4 separate regions of the Homo sapiens genome follow, and regions 2, 3 and 4 are each linked to region 1. The links are contacts of gene promoters, found by promoter capture Hi-C in blood cells and fetal thymus (Javierre and others, 2016). All regions are on one chromosome and are shown on one strand. Each heading gives the region's core, a stretch centred on a gene start or on the middle of the fragment in contact. The rest is flanking DNA. Distances are from core to core; before and after follow the strand shown. Region 1 holds the start of BBX (BBX high mobility group box domain containing). Region 2 overlaps LINC00882 (long intergenic non-protein coding RNA 882). Region 3 overlaps DUBR (DPPA2 upstream binding RNA). Region 4 overlaps LINC00882 (long intergenic non-protein coding RNA 882).

Evidence for each region. The method cuts DNA at HindIII sites, captures the fragments that hold promoters and counts their contacts. A CHiCAGO score of 5 or more calls a contact.
Region 2: a contact is called between a fragment that was not itself captured here and the fragment with the promoter of BBX in region 1, in 2 of 17 cell types (endothelial precursors and megakaryocytes). The highest score is 7.4, in endothelial precursors.
Region 3: a fragment that was not itself captured here is called in contact with the fragment with the promoter of BBX in region 1 in 4 of 17 cell types (megakaryocytes, erythroblasts, M1 macrophages and 1 more); the score reaches 9.9 in megakaryocytes.
Region 4: a contact is called between a fragment that was not itself captured here and the fragment with the promoter of BBX in region 1, in 10 of 17 cell types (megakaryocytes, erythroblasts, fetal thymus and 7 more). The highest score is 15.3, in megakaryocytes.

The regions. Positions count from the first base shown.
Region 1 is chr3:107,521,577-107,524,433 of GRCh38, forward strand. It overlaps BBX (BBX high mobility group box domain containing), which reads left to right and starts at 1,386. Exons shown (of 18, transcript NM_001142568.3): 1 at 1,386-1,531. RefSeq lists an enhancer at 1,003-1,052 and silencers at 1,453-1,762, 1,793-1,882, 1,993-2,062. The HindIII fragment of the contact is 5,936 bases long and covers 313-2,857 here.
Region 2 is chr3:107,211,137-107,214,280 of GRCh38, forward strand. The region is part of intron 1 of LINC00882 (long intergenic non-protein coding RNA 882); the gene reads right to left. Among named protein-coding and RNA genes, the nearest start is that of LINC00882, 28 kb to the right of the region's middle. The HindIII fragment of the contact is 2,421 bases long and covers 304-2,724 here.
Region 3 is chr3:107,249,567-107,252,701 of GRCh38, forward strand. The region is part of intron 1 of DUBR (DPPA2 upstream binding RNA); the gene reads left to right. Among named protein-coding and RNA genes, the nearest start is that of DUBR, 10 kb to the left of the region's middle. The HindIII fragment of the contact is 4,555 bases long and covers 1-3,135 here.
Region 4 is chr3:107,233,571-107,236,372 of GRCh38, forward strand. All of the region lies in intron 1 of LINC00882 (long intergenic non-protein coding RNA 882), which reads right to left. Among named protein-coding and RNA genes, the nearest start is that of LINC00882, 5.7 kb to the right of the region's middle. RefSeq lists a silencer at 2,364-2,413. The HindIII fragment of the contact is 477 bases long and covers 1,171-1,647 here.

The DNA.
Region 1 (2,857 bases), core at 136-2,635:
CACAGGAGTGCTCACATGCACACATACACTCTTTTAACAACTTTATGGATGCGAGAGAAAAACCTTAAGACAGCATCAAGGAAATAAAAGGGGAACTGAAATAAGTTGCCCTAGTTGGGTTTTCTTTAAGTTTTAAAGCTACTTACCTAGGCCATAAAATCGTAGTGTTTATGTAATCTCCAAAATGTTTGTATTTGAGAATAATTCACCAACTCTTAAAACGGAAGGAACCCTAAGAAAACATCTAGGCCTAAGATAATGCCTGACACATAGTAGATGCTGAATAAACATTTAATTGAGGGAATCTGGAAAAGCTTCTTATTTTAATCTTAAAAATCAAAACCAAGTCTGAGCATTGGAGAGGTTAAGTAACTTGCTCAAGATTGCTCAGCTGGTTAAAGAGTTTAATCTACAATTTATTCCTTCTAATTTCCAGCTTTGACTTCTTTCCACCAACCTGTTGACTTATGTGTATTGAACTGTCTCATATAATCTTCTGAAGTTGCATTGTTGAAAAACAATCAGAAAGACCAGTCCTGAGGTTCATCATCTCCAAAAGTCATGCAACATATGATGTTCACATGAGATGTGAAATATGTAAAGAGTCATATATTTTTATATATAATATGCAAAATATAAATCATGTATATATTGAATCAAAGGTCTGTTTTGAAGGCTAAGGGTCAATAGCCAATCTTCCATGACTTATTTTACCTAACAGCACAGTTTGCATGTCCACACAGGTGATGGCAGTCCACTGACCAGTTAAAAGTTGTTTGGCTATTTCAGCAAAATGTTTATCTTTGTGTGTTGTTATATTGATTTTTTTGAATCTACCTACGAATGAGGCACTAACAACCTCAATGCATTAGAGTCCTGATAAACTTATCTTGCACTATTTTGGCCTATGTGATAGCTAACCCATTGACAAAAGAAATCCAAGGTGATAAAAGCCTTTCTTGGCCACTTGTTAGCCGGGTCAGGCTGTAAAATCGTAACACAATGCAGGCCTCTTCCATGGGGCACCAAAAGGCAGCGATGAAAAACCCCCCTCACTTCCATATCCAGTGGAGTTGTAGTTTATTACCATAACCCTCCCAAGTCAAAAGGACACCAGTTTCAAGCCTTGCAACTTGGTGCAGACAGGGGTTTTCCCCTTTACCCCACTCTGCTGGGCCTCTTTACCTGTCCTCTCCTACTGTCTACAGGTCCCGAACATTAGAAAATAGAAAATGTGATGATCTTTGTGTGTCTCTGTAAAATGTGTGTATGTGTGCGTGTGTTTGGGTGTAACGGGCCTCTTGTTTGGCTGCGCGGCCTGTCCGTCACTGCGCGGGCCAATGGCAGGCTGCCTTATATAAAATGAGTGTTTTCAGTCTCTCCGGGTTGCATGTACTGTATGTGGAGCAGTGTACAGTGAAGCGGAGGCAGAGCGGCTCCGCGAGCTTCTCTCCACTTTCCCATAGAGAAACCCTGACTGGCCGCTGAGGGCTAGCTACACACACGCCCTCACGCCCGGCGAGCCCGCGAGGTAGGCGCCCCCCATCCCCAGCCCTCCCTGGGCGCACTCCCCTCACTTTCTGTTTTCCTACTCACTTGCGAGCCGCCGGGCTGCAGCCCCAAGGACTCCGCGGCAGGAGCAGCGGCGGCGGCGGCGGCGGCGGCGGCGGCAGCCGGTAGGGTGGACTTGAGGAAGACGGAGGGAACCCCGCGCGTCCGGAGCCGCCGCCAGCCGGCCCGCTCCCTGGGCACTTTCCCCCTCCGCCAAAACTTTGGGTCGGGAGAGGTCGGGGGCGAGGGTCGCGGCGGCCGCGCCGGCTGGGGCCGGGGGGCGGGGGGCGCTGAGGCAGTGCCCTGCGAGCGGGAGGCTGGGGGCCGGGCTGGGGAGTAGTAGGCCAGCCGGTGCCAGGCTGCGTTTGCAACCAGCACCTCTCGGCACACAGGCAGCGCCGCCTGAGAGGGGCACGGGCGCCGGGGCGCGGGCTGGAGCGGCCCCAGGAAAACAACAACAGAGCCCTCACGCCGGCGGGCGGCTCGTGGCCGCCCGGGGAGCCCCAAACTTCATCTCGGCGAAAGTACGTGGAGCCCTGCCTGGTCTCGGCTGCCGGGGAGGTGGGGCCTGGGGAGCAGGGGCAGTGGAGGAAGGTACGAGGAGCCAGCCTTCGGTGGATTTATTGAACGTTTCGTCTGCGTTGGTGACCGGGAACAGCAGCCCAGTTGCTCGTTCATCTGGAGAGTTGGGATTTGGGTGTTCCGGCCCCGCAGATCAGTGCCCTCTCACCCCCCACCCCTACCCAAATGCGCGGCGAGTAGAGAAAGTGCTGTTTTAGTGCCAGAGTAGCCTGGAGGAAGAATAGGGGGAGAGGGGGAAGAGGGCGAGGGAGAAGGGGAGAGAGAAGAGGGAGGGAAGGGGGGGGAGAGAGGGAGACAGAGAGAGAGGGAGAGAGAGAACGGGAGGGAAGAGAGGAGGGGGAAGAGGAGGAGGGAGGCTGTGTCAGGATTTTGCTTGAATGTGGGATTATGTTGTGTCAATAAGTTTAAGGTGGAGAGAGCGAGGCTGAGGGTGGTGGTGGAGGGGAGGAGGAAGGCCTTGGCCGTTTAAAGTCTTATTTCTGAAGGTAAGTTACGGCTTTGCCTGGTCGCGATGACAGAAAACTTGCAGATCCTTTATCCGGGGATGGGGTCGATGCCTCTAGAAAGAGCTCCCTAGCCCTCTTAAGCCACACTCGTGTTACACTGTTATTTGCTGCGATCCGGGTCGCTAGTAAATTACAGAAATCAGACTCGAGGTTTCTTTTCCTCCTCCACCTCGTCTCGCTCACTCACCCTCTGAAATTTATTATCATATTTTATTTAT
Region 2 (3,144 bases), core at 264-2,763, 310 kb before region 1:
GCCATTATTATTCATATTTTATAAAAGAAGAAACTGTATCACAGAGGAGTTATTTTCTCCAGCTCTCATGGTCAGTAAGTAAAAGAACAAAAATTGCCTGACTGCAAAGCCAGTACTCTTTCCACTACACCAGACTTTTAGAGGACACAACTGAGAATCACAACAAAGATAACTGCTTGCATAAAACTTTGTGACCCTGCAAAGTGCTTGCAAATATTTATTTGTGAGATATTTTCTTGGAAGAATAAAACTTATTTTCCCAAAAATACAATACTAATGTTTTTGTCATAAGCTAGAACACAAAGCTTGTTTTGCCCAAAATGTGTTTAAATAAATCACACTTTAGGATTAAAAACATAATAATAGTACTGCTAATGTACTTATATTTCAATCTAAGTTGTCTTACCCTGTGGCCATATCATAAACTTCAAGTACTCTTTCTCAAAATACAATCATGGAATATGAGAACTAGAAATAACCATATAAATAGGATGGCCAACCCTCTTAGTTTTCCCAGGACTTTGGGGTCTCCAGGACAAGGGACTTTCAGTTTTAAAACAGAGACTAAAAAGATTCCTAGGACATTTCACTGCTGAAACTGGGAAAGTACCAAGCAAGCCGGGACAAGTTGATCATCCAGCAAACCATCTGGTCTAACCTCCTCATTTCACAGGTGAGGAAGCCAAGATTCATAGAAAACACATGTGTTCATAGAAAAAACACATGCCACTTCTACACTTCTTCTCTTTTAGTCTTTATACAGATTCATTCAGCCTTCAGATATCCAGTAATTTCCCAGACTTAGTCACTAGTTTAATTGCTCATAATTTTCCACTCTCCATTAAGATTTGTGTGTCAGGGACCAAATCTGTGTTCCCTTTGTATTTTCAGCACCTAGTCCAGTGCCTGACTCAGGGTATGCAACTTGTTGTATGTTTGTTGACTGCCATTGAAGGACTAGATTGTATGCTTGGGAGACTGAGGTCTTTATTCAAGTTGTATTGGATTACAGGGACAATTGTGTGTCAAAGATGGAAAGCTGAAAGCTGCAGTAGGCAACATCTTTACCAATTAAATTTTCCTTTATTTCCTGCATTTTATAGGCAGGTATTACTTTATAATAAAAATAAAAGGCATTTTTAAAAGAAAAACCATCAGTGCCTTGTGTTCCCCTGATTAACCAGAGGAATGCTGATTCAGGAGGTGAAGATCATGCCACAGGATAAATTACTGTCTTAAGTGTCCTGCTTGCCAAGGTTTCCGCCGACAGCGCAACACCCATGCATCATATTCTCCTCCTTCATTGTCCCTCACCTGTTGTCCTCACAAATTACTTGTGAAGAAAAAAAAGAGAGCGCAAGCAATCCAGTGAATAGATCCCAATCTTTGATTTATTACTATATCATTGAATGGCCCCAGTTCCTGTTCATATTGAAACCTGAACTGACAGTGCAATGTGCTTAAAAATGGATGTAGCATTTGAGATACGAGATTTCAAAGCAGGGAGTTTTTATCCAGCTGTGCTGCATCTCCACACTTGCCAAAATGCTTATGTTTCCACTTGGTGCTGCCGAGTTACACTTTTCCCTCTTAAAAAGATGAGAACCATGTGCCAGAACTCATTAAGAAATAACCCAGTAATCAGGCTGGTTCCCAAGTAGCTTTTTGACACCAAGTAACTTTCTTTGATCAGTAGAAATGGTACATTATACTCACTATAAACCTTCAAGTGGGAGACACTGCCAAGAAATTCCGAGAGATGAAAACACCAGAATTTTGAAGTTGACCCACAACTGTTTCTTTATGTCACAGTACACTGTAATTCAAAGAGTTTCATTCATTTTGAAAGTGTTTCTACCCTCACTTAAAAACATCCTTTTTCATTTTCCCCTCTTGTTGAAACTCACAGAGTATCATTGTCCTATAACTTGAAATTGTGCCCTAGAATTATTTTATTACAGTGCAAAAGTAGATGTCCAGAGATCCAAAAGCTACAGTTTGTTACTTGATGGTGCACAAAACCACATAAATGTTGCTATGTGTTCAGCTTCTTCACTCTCAGCCCTCGCTTGCTCATTTCCAAAGTTTAAAATAAGCAGTGAATGCAGATTGGCAGAGAAAAAAATCCCATCACCAAAGGACAGTATAGAGACTGAATGTTTGATATCTAGGAAAGGTAACTCTACTCTTTCTTTAAGAAAGGCTATGAGAGGTTTGTGTGTATTTTCTTTATGTAGACCGGGGATATTTTTAGCATCAGTTTGTAAGGTCACTTTCTTCTGCTCTAATGGCTACTTTCCTTAGAATTGCCAAGCACAACAAACTCCAAAACCATAGTTCCCCTTACGACAGCTCTGATTAGCTCGATGCCAAATACAATCAGAACAGCATTCAACCATTTGGGCAGAAACACACAAACAAACTCTAGTACAGGCATACCTCACTTCATTGCCCTTCCTTTTACTGCTCTTCACAGATAATAACATTTTTTGTTTTTTTACAATTGGAGTTTTGCAGCAAACCTGCGTCGAGCAAGTCTATCAGCACAAACTTTCCAACTGCACGTGCTCACTTCGTGTCTCTGTGTCACACTTCAGTAATTCTCAAAATATTTCAAATATTTTCATTACAATTATATATGTTGTGGTGACCTGTGATCAGCGATCTTTGATGTTACTACTGTAATTGCTTTGGGGCACCACAAGTTGCACCCACATGACAGCAAGCTTTTTTTTTTTTTTTTTTTTTTTGGCGATAGAGTATCACTGTGTGGCCCAGGCTGGAGGGCAGTGGCGCAATCTTGGCTCACTGCAACTTTTGCCTCCTGGGTTCAAGCAATTCTCCTGCCTCAGCCTCCCAAGTAGCTGAGATTACAGGTACCCACTACCAGGCCAGCTAATTTTTGTATTTTTAGTAAAGACAGGGTTTCACCATGTTGGCCAGGCTGGTCTCGAACTCCTGACCTCAAGTGATCCACCTGACTCAGCCTCCCAAAGTACTGGGATTACAGGCGTGAGCCACCACGCCCAGCCATGACAGCAAACTTAATCAATGTTGTATGTGTTCTGACTGCTCTACCAACTGGCCATTCCTACATCTCTCTCCCTCTCGTATAGCCTCCCTTTTCCCTGAGACACAATCTTG
Region 3 (3,135 bases), core at 468-2,967, 270 kb before region 1:
AGGTCTAGGAACTGAGAAAGGGATTGTGATGTGTCATTGGAGCCAGTGCGGTTCCATTCGTGCCTTATTTGGTTATAGGCGTTAAGCAGCATTCTTGTTAGATGCCCATCTATTTTGCCTATAGGGGTGTTACTTTCAATTAATTATCTCCTAAACACCCTGTGAATCAAACCCCCTTAACTACCCCTCCAATTTCACCAGTTGTTATAGTAATTATGGCCTCTTGACTTTTGGTAATTAAGCACTAGTCCTCCAGAGCCCTCTATTACTTGAGGGTCCATTACCCCTGAATCATATTAACAATCCCAGCTCTGTGACCACCTCATTTACCATCAGCCCTGGTCTAAAGAGTAAAGCCACTACTGCACTTAGTGATACTGGTACCTTCTCACAGGCTCATTCTTGGTGGCCTTAGTGAATTGTCACTATTTCATGACATATTCATCACAGTATATCCATCACATATTCATTCATCTGACCCTTATGAAGGTGTGATGGTTAATTTCATCACAGTACATACATGCCATTGTATAGCAGGTCCTTAACTAATATAGCAACACCAACGTTCTCAGGCAGAACCAATAGACCCTGTTGAAGGGCAGGCAAGCCCAGAGCAAACCATCTATATGCAGTTCTTTTAACAGCCTGCAAGGCACTGTAAGATTAGGGAGACGTTTATCGAATTATGTTCTGTGGAAAACTAGTTCCATAGGATATGAACTGATGTCAGGAGAAAAATTAAATTAGAAATTTGCTTCAGTGCCAGATTCTCAAAGCCATTCGTATGTGAATGTTTAGTGCAACTCTCCAAAAGAGATGATTTGATGTGTTACATGTGGCAGTAGTATGATGTGCAGCCCAGATCCCCCTTCAAAGAACGGCTTGCTCCCCACTTGCTGGGTGTGATGTTAGCAGGCAGCCTGCAGCTGTCAGCCCTCTTCAGGAATTGGCATAGCTGTAGAAAACCACTTCACCTAAGGTCACACTTTTTTGTGGAGTGGCCCATAGCCAAGGATTGATCAGTGTGGAGATACAAAGTTGTTCTCTTGCCCATCTGAGGACATCTCCGAGGGCCGTTTTAACTCCAGAGCTCCCTGTGGGGTTGGCCAAGGCTGTCATTGGACCTACATTATAACTCATTTTCTCCCAATTCCGCTTCTCTCTCTCTTTGAACAAATGTTTGGCAAAAGGCACTTCTTAATAAATATCCTGCAATTAAAGTATATCTCAGAATCTGCATCCTGGAGAATACTGTCTGAGACACCCCACTTTCTAATTTTGTTTGCCCATCAAAGCCCATTCCCCGCCCCCCTTTTTTTTTTGACAGAGGCTTCTTCTTTCACCTGGAAGGGAGTGCAGTGGTGCAATCTCGGCTCACTGCAGCCTCTGCCTCCCAGGCTCAAGCAATTATCCTGCCTCAGCCTCCCGAGTAGCTGGGATTACAGGTACCCACCACCACGCCTGTCTAACTTTTTGTATTTTTAGTGTAGATGGGGGTTTCACCATGTTAGTGAGGCTAGTCTCAAATTCCTGACCTCAAGTGATCCGCCCGCCTGGGCTTCCCAAGTGCTGGGATTACAGGTGTGAGCCACTGTGCCTGGCCTAAAACCCTTTTTCATAGAGTACCTAACAAGAGTAGGCCTTAAGAAATATATTCTGGATGCTGGTAAGTGCAGGTGTGAGAACTAAGTACCTATGTGGAAAGTAAGGGGAGGGGTACCCGAGACTTAAATCTCAGCTTATGAATTCCTTTGAGATTTGAAACTAGCTTAATTTTGATGTGTAACTCTAATGCTTAAAGTACTGCAGGATCTACTATCTATGGAGGTGCTACGGAGAGGATCTAAATATTATGTGACCTATGCAAATAAATTTTCTTTTCTCTGTAACAGTGTTTAAAACTCTAAGATAATCCGTGGTTGTCAGGTAAAATGCACTCATGTCTATCTGACAGATACAAATGTTTTGCATTCCAGCTGCTTTTAGATATTTAACGGGAGAGGAAAAGAGAAAATATGATTAAAGCCTTTGAAAGTCCATTTCCAAGAAATAAAAACTGCAGTAGGAATTCTACAAAACTGAAAAATCTTCAGGACTGGAAGATCTATCCAGAAAAGCCCAGTGGATTATAATAACTTATTAAAATATTTGTTTGGCAAGCCACTGACTAATACCACTTTAAGATATGAATGCATTACCAAAAAAAATTGGAGTGAGTAGTTTTTACAAGTCTTTGAAATAATCATATTTGTATTTTGACACTAATTTGAAACAAGGAGCTGGCTTGAAATATTAAACCTAAGTGATCAGAGACAATGAGCTATCAGACTGCATGATCAACGTAGAGCAATCTCCACATAAGATGAGATGCATGCAGCCTCTACAAATTTGGCTTGGGGAGGAGTTTGCTTCGCTCGCTTGAATAAGCCACTGTCTATGGCTCACAAGGGTCCCGTTCTTAATGAGGTGGTGCGTAGCAGCAACACACTGTGAATCCAAATAGCAGATGGCAACACTGTTGAGTAGGCTGGCAGTCTGATGTCTAGCCACCAACTGGCAGCAATCATTATTAAACTGATTCATGTGCCCAGGGAAAATCTTCATAAGAGTCTTAGCAAATGTGAGCAGCAAGAAGCAAATGATCTGCTATTCCTATCTGCTATGAGTACTACCTATATTTCTTAAAATATTTTTCCCCAGTGCAACCTACACAAAGAAATGGCATGTTATGTGCACTGGAGGCCCTATTCCTTTCCTATAGATGCATGTATACCTTTAAACATGATAGCTGTGATTTCTCTATTTGGTGAATAGCTTTCCCTTGACGGAAATAGCTTCATAGCATTCACCCTATGGATTTGTTGCACATATTCAATGATAGGCAAGCACTCATAGATTCTGTAAATAAATAACTGAACATATTCTATCTCACATAATGAAGCAATGGCCTACATTGCTCATAGTCCATCTACATGAGACAGGTAACTCATCCTTGGGTGAAAAGTTTGTTACACTCACACTTGGTTAGGAAAGCAGACTAAGAAAGGCTCTAGCTTTAGAAAACTTATGTAAGGATCTTTCTACAAGAAAATCTTAAAGGTATACATTTAAAAGTTAAGTCTTTATGCTGGGTGC
Region 4 (2,802 bases), core at 159-2,658, 290 kb before region 1:
GAAGGCCTGGGAGAAAATGGTTACCTGGGCCAGGCCCAGGGTCCCCATTCTGTGTGCAGCCTAGGGACTTGGTGCCCTGAGTCCCAGGCACTCCAGCGGTGAGTAATAGGGGCCAAGGTACAGCTCAGGCTGTTTCTTCAGAGAGTGCAAGCCCCAAACCTGGGCAGCTTCCATGTGGTGTTGGGCCTGTGGGTGCTTACAAGTCAAGATTTGAGGTTTGGGAACCTCCACCTAGATTTCAGAAGATGTATGGAAATGTCTGGATGCCCAGGCAAAAGTTTGCTGCAGGGGTGGGGCCCTCATGGAGAACCTCTGCTAGGGCAGTGTGGAAGGGAAATGTGGGGTCAGAGCCCCCATACAGAGTCCCTACTGAGGCACAGCCTAGTGGAGCTGTGAGAAGAGGACCATCATCCTCCAGACCCCAGAATGGTGGATCCACCAACAGCTTGTGCCGTGTGCCTGGAAAAACCATAGACACTCAAGGCCAGTCCCTGAAAACAGCCAGGAGGAGTGCTGTACCCTGCAAAGCCACAGGGGCGGAGCTGCCCAAGACCATGGGAACCTACCTCTTGTGTGAGCATGACCTGGATGTGAGACATGGAGTGAAAAAAGATCATTTTGGAGCTTTAAGATTTGACTGCCCCGCTGGATTTCGGACTTGCATGGGGCCTGTAGCAACTTTCTTTTGGCCAATGTCTCCCATTTGGAATGGCTACCCAATGCCTGTACCCACATTGTATCCAGGAAGTAACTAACTTGCTTTTGATTTTACAGGCTCATAGGCAGAAGGGACTTGCCTTGTATCAGATGTGGACTTTTGAGTGAATGCTGAAATGAGTTAAGACTTTGGGGGACTGTTGAAAAGGCATGATTGATTTTGAAATGTGAGGACATGAGATTTGGGAGGAGCCAGGGGAGGAATGATATGGTTTGGCTGTGTCCCCACCCAAATCGCATCTTTAATTCTCACGTGTTGTGGGAGGGACCTGGTGGGAGGTAATTGAATCACGCGGGCAAGTCTTTCCCATGCTGTTCTCATGATATGAAAAAGTTTCATGAGATCTAATGGTTTTAAAAAGAGGAATTCCCGTGCACAAGCTCTCTCTCTTTGCTTGCTGCCATCCACGTAAGACATGACTTGCTCTTCCTTGCCTTCTGTCATGATTGTAAAGCTTCCCCTGCCACGTGGAAGTTTAAGTCCAATTAAACCTCTTTCTTTTGTAAATTGCCCAGTCTCAGGTATGTCTTTATTACTAGCATGAAAACAGACTAATACAATATGTCATACAAGAGAAATAGGAAATGATAGCACTAAAAGCAATGCTATGAACGTAACAGCCCCAAGCATTAAGGAATCAGGTTATTAATTGTTACCTGAAATAAACCATGTAAATGTTTTCTCAAAGTTTTATTTTTTAAAATCCATCATTGTGCCTTTGAAGTAGGAACTTTGGAAGTTTTAGAAGTGACACTCCTATAGTACTTATAGCAAAAACTACATCTTTCACGAGCAGTTTGGACTGGATTTCTACATCTATCATAACATGGATACATTTAATTTTCTAAATATCGAACGTTTCTTCTCCAGTCGTGTTCCTCATGGAGAAAGAGTCCCAGCAAAAAAACAAATGCTGAAGCAAGGCCCCAAGCTTCTAACTACTTTTGCTGAGTGACGGGGAACGCTAGCACCTTATTAGTTAATCCCAAGGGGAAGGTCTGCCATGCAGGAACTAGCAGCCCTCAGAGTCTAAAACGTGGAACATATAACATCCTACTCGCATGCTCACACATACGCATTTGCACATGGGCTGACTTACATCCAGGAGACAGCCCCTGAGCTCTTTACAAATTGCAGAGAAGCCCAGGAAATCAGCTCTAAAGATGATGTGCCTCTGCTCTGCTTCAGAGGCTCCAACTCATCCTAACTGCCCTGAGAGGTTTCCATGATCAAATCCAGGAGCAGGAGGCAGAAGAGCTGAGGCTCACAAATGGCCCATCCGGGCTTTTCCGTGGAGCCCGTTTCTGCCCGACCCCCCTGAGGAATGTAAACGATCTGTTCAGGACTGAACTGCTTTACCCTCGAGGATGTAAATTATTCATTACCCCCTCCTTCTTGCACATTTTGCCTTTCATTTGCTCCATCTACTCCCTGCTCTATCTTTACTAATTTATCTCTAAGCTACCTCAATTGCCTTCTGCTCTGCTCCCCTCAGAAACTTAAAAACGAAACCGGATTCATTAGCCAAATAACTGGATTAGAGTTCTCTTCAACATATCAGGCAGTAGAGAAAGTTGCTTTGTAATTTCTTTGATATTCAGCCTTTTAGAAAGCAATTCCTTAAATTACTCTGTTTAAATCTTTGAACTACTTAACTTTCTTTGATAGCACGCTAACATTGCACTAAAACCTGTGCAATGTTATGAAAACTTTAATTTCTGTAGTCAGTGCTTCCACATGAACAGCAGGGGGCAGTAGGATATCACGAATTGAAAAAATTGTCCTGGGCTCTGAGAAACACTGTTGAATTACTGCAGTGGGTCTGTGTACTCGTGATGATCTCAGCTCTCGGATGAAGTCTTTTGTTTTGTGTCCTATTTTACAATGCACCGTTCAGTTTTCTATATGAGTTGTGGCTTAGTCACAGTATTTCACTGTGACAGCTTAGCTTAAGAAAAAGAAAGGTGCAGGAGAAAAAAAAAAGGAGGAAAAGAGAAAGAGAACATGTAAATGCTTCCAAATAAAACACATCATGAAAAGGAAAAAGTAATCCTGTGTATACATATAAAGTTTGTCCCTTCTCT